Linked DNA regions of Homo sapiens: region 2 is linked to region 1. The links are contacts of gene promoters, found by promoter capture Hi-C in blood cells and fetal thymus (Javierre and others, 2016). All regions are on one chromosome and are shown on one strand. The core of a region is centred on a gene start or on the middle of the fragment in contact, and the rest is flanking DNA. Distances in the headings are between cores, read along the strand shown. Region 1 holds the start of CNTF (ciliary neurotrophic factor). Region 2 overlaps UBE2L6 (ubiquitin conjugating enzyme E2 L6).

The links. Contacts are between HindIII fragments. The CHiCAGO score rates a contact against its expected background, and 5 or more counts as called.
Region 2: a contact is called between a fragment that was not itself captured here and the fragment with the promoter of CNTF in region 1, in 1 of 17 cell types (naive CD8 T cells). The highest score is 5.3, in naive CD8 T cells.

What each region holds. Positions count from the first base shown.
Region 1 is chr11:58,621,305-58,624,004 of GRCh38, forward strand. CNTF (ciliary neurotrophic factor) reads left to right here and starts at 1,361. Exons shown (of 2, transcript NM_000614.4): 1 at 1,361-1,562. The coding sequence starts at 1,449. ZFP91 (ZFP91 zinc finger protein, atypical E3 ubiquitin ligase) reads left to right here. Exons shown (of 11, transcript NM_053023.5): 11 at 1-246. ZFP91-CNTF (ZFP91-CNTF readthrough (NMD candidate)) reads left to right here. Exons shown (of 13, transcript NR_024091.1): 12 at 1,462-1,562. The HindIII fragment of the contact is 9,454 bases long and covers 1-2,700 here.
Region 2 is chr11:57,552,659-57,555,369 of GRCh38, forward strand. It overlaps UBE2L6 (ubiquitin conjugating enzyme E2 L6), which reads right to left. Exons shown (of 4, transcript NM_004223.5): 3 at 1,779-1,965. Among named protein-coding and RNA genes, the nearest start is that of UBE2L6, 14 kb to the right of the region's middle. The HindIII fragment of the contact is 6,800 bases long and covers 1-2,711 here.

The sequences.
Region 1 (2,700 bases), core at 111-2,610:
TAGTAGATGGAAAATTAAGGATTATGTGAGGTTAATTTTACCCTGATAATGACAAAACCTTGATAGCATTTAATATTAATACTTCTTCTCAAAATTGAATGTTTATATCAAGTACTGATTTTTATTTTAAAAAAGAAAAAACTATAATCCTTCTGCCTTCCAAAAGCCATGCTGTGATAGCTGCCCAGGCTGCTCTGTTACATCTCCCATTTATTGTTTACTTTTATAAATTTGCTTCTAAGATGGTATGTGTTTCAGCTTATTGGCAATATCTATGATATAAATAATGAAAGCTAATTATTTCATTTAGCCCTTACCCAATAAGCATCATTTTCTAAGTTAAATGCAATAGAATGACAACCCTCCAAGTACCTTTTAACTTTTATACTGTCATTTCAAAGCCCAGCTCATTCTCTTATTTTAAGAAGCATGTGGTATGACTGGGTAGGGGAGAAAAAAGGAAAGCATGTTGTCACTTGAGTGAGACTGCTTTAGAAATGTTACCAAGTTAGCGTTGGGTGTTTCCTGTTCTTTGGAAGAGAACAGGCCTAAACAGTACCTTCCTCCTCCTATGTAGCTACCAGGAAGGCACCGTGATTGAAATTAGAGATGCTTCCTTGCTTGATTTTTAAGTATAAATTAAATTACCTTTAAAAAGTACGTAAGGTTAGGAGTGAAAAAAATCCTGTTTTTAAAGGACTTCACACACCCTTTGTTTCTTGAACAAGATGTGAACTACCTAAACAGAAAATGAAATTGGAAAGTCAGTGGGAGAGACAACTATAGAATCAGACTTCTATTTAAATTCAAGCCTCGTTACTTGATTTTGTGCATGTTATTTCTTGAAGTTTCAGTTTCTTATATGGAGAAATAACATTTACCTCAGAAATATTCTGAAGATCAAATGGAATTGCTTTAAAGTATTTAGCTTACTGACTGACCCATGGTAGATACTTAATAAATGGCAGCTGTGTCAATAACAATTTTATTGAATGAACATTTCGCCAGCCTATGAGAAAAAAGACATGGGAAGCATAAGGGAGAATGATAATAAAATGAACTAATTCTAAGTGTGTGAGATAGATTACATTAGGCAGGGGTGCCATGAGGATTGGTATGATAGTGACCTTGTTGCTAAGTGCAAAAGCAAAACAATGACATAGAAACAAGTGTGCTAAGTACTGAGTGGAGGAGAGAGATGGAGGCAGACGCTGCAGGGGAAAAAAAATCTGATTAAAAAGGGCCCTTTGATTCCACAGGCACAAAAATCCACAGCCAGGAATTTGCTACCTCCTCTGAGTCAGGCAGGGCGTGGGGGTGGGGTGCACAATCCCATTAGTAGAGAATGCCCAGTGGGTTTAGTCTTTGAGAGTCACATCTCTTATTTGGACCAGTATAGACAGAAGTAAACCCAGCTGACTTGTTTCCTGGGACAGTTGAGTTAAGGGATGGCTTTCACAGAGCATTCACCGCTGACCCCTCACCGTCGGGACCTCTGTAGCCGCTCTATCTGGCTAGCAAGGAAGATTCGTTCAGACCTGACTGCTCTTACGGAATCCTATGTAAGTTGCCTATTTTGCTGTTATCTGTTTTCCCTTCATCTTTTTTGATCCAGCAACTTACCATCACGCATCAGCTCCATTACCAATTGTGAAAGCTCTAATCATATAGTCATTCATATAGGTTATTTGACATGGGCCCTTCCCTTGAGGAAACCCATGTGACTTTATTTTCTTCCTCTGGGCTGTTTAGGAGATGAAGTTACTTGAATGAGAAAATATATATGGAGTTCTAGAAAGGATTGGTTTATATGTCTTGGAGGCTATTCCAAATTTATTGGCATATATTCTGAATACTACTAGAACAGATTAGCCATGGGCCCTCTGGGTTCTTCATAGCCATTGTTCTGAATTTTTTAGCTATGTAAATGAAAGGTTTATGGGATAGGAAGAGTACTATGAACGTGGGAGGAATTTGTAAATCCTACCAATTTCTCCTATATAGCATTAGCCACCCACCTTTTAGTATTCTGCATCAAAAGTAGATTGTGTCTAAAGAGAAAGGTAAGCTATCAAAAGGATCTCCTAGAAGATTCATTGGAAACTTGTGGAAGTGTCAAATTCTTGAGCTAATTCTGGAGTTCCAGATTTGTCTTCTAACAGTAAGGGGATCCCCATCAATTTCCACCTGAGATATGCTGTGGAAATACTCCAACCCCTGTGGAGAGTTTTGAATTTAGGCTGAGAACTGATTTATCTTTGTACAGCCTCACCAGACAGAAATCAGACTCTTTGGGAGTGCTCAATGGGGAGAGGGAAGTTAGAGAAATTCTACAATGGCTATATTCCAAGTTTTCCTAGTTGTGGCCAGTGTCTTTTACAAGTATGTTTAAAAATACTTTAATATGATTAAAATATTCCAGTTAATGAGAGAGTTTGAAGTGAGAAGGAAAAATTCTTCTAAATCAGTTTTCAACCTTTAGAACTCAATAAAATCTGAACATTCTTCTAAGAAAAATCCATAGGTAGTCAATTTCAGGCAGTATTGGGTCTTTCTAAAGTCCAGTCATAGAGCCCAAATTAAGAGTTCCTACTGTAGACATATTATTTACTTTACAACTTGGATCCTTGGCCAGAGAGATGAGTGAGATTTTGTATGAAATTTAGGGGTGATTTAAGGACACTGGGGTGATGACAGAAG
Region 2 (2,711 bases), core at 43-2,542, 1.1 Mb before region 1:
TCATTCTTGGCTGGTGACACCCAAGGCCTTGACTGATTACATCAGTGGTTTTCAAACAACTACATTCCATGGCTTCAGAGAAGCTCCTCATCACAGGGGCCACTGAGATAAGTGAGGTTTCTGGGTCTTATCCCCATTTCAACAAAAACTGCTCTGTTTTCCTCCATTATATTGGTAGTCCAAATAAACTTTTCCTTGGGCAAAAGAGGTCTAAGGCTAAAGACTGAAAACCACCACTGCCCCCTGGCTCTTCATCTTTCACAGATGCCTTTGGGAACCTAGTGAAGGCAGCAGCCCATCTCCCGAGACAGATGTGCACATCCACATGCAAAACAGACAGTTCCCAGACCCCCTGAAGCTCATCCAAGGACCACTCCTCTCCCTGCTCCCACTCCCACCAACCTAAGGACTTTCATTTCCTGAGTTAAAAACTCCTGAGCTGGTCCAGGTGGAGGATTGCACACTGATTCAGCCACAGGCTCTAGAGCTGTGTTGTTCAATATGGTAGCCATTAGCCACATGCAGGCATCTAAATTTAAATGAATTAAAATCAGGCTGGGCACGGTGGCTCACGCCTGTAATCCCACCACTTTGGGAGGCCAAGATGGGTGGATGGCTTGAACTCACGAGTTTGAGACCAGCCTGGGCAATATGGCAAAACCTGGTATCTACAAAGCATGCAAAAATTAGCCAGGTATAGTGGCATGCTCCTGTAGTCCCAGTTACTCGGGAGGCTGAGGTGGGAGGATGGCTTGAGCCCAGGAGGTGGAGGTTGCAGTGAGCCAAGATTGCGCCACTGAACTAACTGCCTGGGCAATAGAGACAGACCGTGTCTCAGTAGAAAAAACAAAAAGGATTAAAATTAAGTACAATTAAGAATTGAGTTCTGGCCAGGCGCAGTGACTCACACCTGTAATCCCAGCACTCTGGGAGGCGGAGGCAGGCGGATCGCCTGAGGTCAGGAGTTCGAGACCAGCCTGGCTAACATGGCAAAACCCCTCTCTATTAAAAATACAAAATAGCTGGGTGTGGTGTCATACGCCTGTAATTCCAGCTATTCAAGAAGCTGAGGCCGGAGAATCGCTTGAACCTGGGAGGTGGAGGTTGCAGTGAGCCAAGATCGCGCCACTGCACTCCAGCCTAGGCGACAGAGCGAGACTCTGTCTTAAAAAAGAAAAAGAATTGAGTTCTTCAGTTGCAACAGCCACATGTGGCTTGCGAGTCAGCCAAGTGCTGCCGTTTGTCATCTGTATGACCTTAGGCAACCACTTCACCTCTCACATGCCTCAGATGTCCGGGTCTACTAAACAACACTACCTCACGGGCTTGTTGGGGAAATAAAAATGAAGTCGGCAGGTGATGTTTTTAGCACAGTGCCGAAAGTGCTCAGTCAAGTGACAGGTATTATCATTATGAGGCCAGTTCCCTCCACTGTCATTTAGGACACCGAGTCCCAGAAAGGAACGAAAACTTGCCCAAAGTCCACAGAGGGAACAGCGGGCTTTCTTTTCCCGAGCCCTTCCCTGTGCAGCCAAGCTGCCTCTCCCATGAACCGCAGCAACGTTCCTCTGTCACAACTGCACAGGTATAAGAAGAGAGGCAGGAGGAGGTCAGTCTGTCCAGGAAGCATCCCTTCTATCTCATAGTAAGTTCAGCCAAGACTCACAATTTTTATCTCCTCTCTTTGGGGCTTTTCAAGCTCAGAATAAGCTGTGAACCCCCTCTCCAGTAATCTCTACCCAGTATCAGTCCCTCCTCCAAGCAAAGCCCAACCCCACCTTGGCAAGTCTTGGTGCAAGGCTTCCAGTTCTCACTGCTGATGATGGGCAGGCAAATCTGTCCGTTCTCGTCCACGTTGGGGTGGTAGATCTTGGTTGTGAATTTGATCATGGGAGGCTTGAACGGATACTCCGGCGGGAAGCTGATGCGCAGGTTGAAGGCTTTCAGGTGGTAGGGAGGTTGGTCCTGTGCAGAGAGAAAAGGGGTCAAGCTCCAGTCTGGTTTTCCTCCCTTCCTGCCCCAATCCGAGGGTCCTAGGCATCCTCTGCTTCACTCCCAGGAGGAATCATGAGCCAGGACACACACAGCACCTGCATTCATTTGACAATTGAGTCATGGATTAGTGAAAATGTGAAATCACCAAAGGGCACTGGCCTGGGAGGCAGAGAAGTCTGATCCTGGCTTTTGCTGTGTGACCACGGGTGAGCCACTTCCCACCTCTAGGCCTCAGTTTCCTCATTTGAAAAGTGGATAAAGATGGACTAGATGAGCTCTAAGGACCATCTCAGCTTTCAAGACTTTCTGAGATTATGGAAGAAAAGGATGGAACATCCTTTCTTAAAACATTAGAATGGGGGTGAGGAAATGGAGAAAATGAGGAAATCCTAAGAACTCAGGAGCTTAGGAAAATAAAATGGTGCAGCTGTGATGGAAAACAGTATGGCCATTTCTCAAAAGATTAGACACAGAATTACCATATGATCCAGCAGTTCTACTTCTGGGTAGACACCCAAAGAACTGAAAGCAAACAGGTATTTGTATACCAATGTTTCTAGCAGCCAAAAGGTGAAAGCAAACCAAGTGTCTATCAATGGATCAATCAACAAAACGTGGCATATACACACAATGGAGTATTATTTAGCCTTAAAAGGAATGAAATTCTGATATATGCTACAACACGGATGAACCTTGAAGACACTATGCTACAGGAA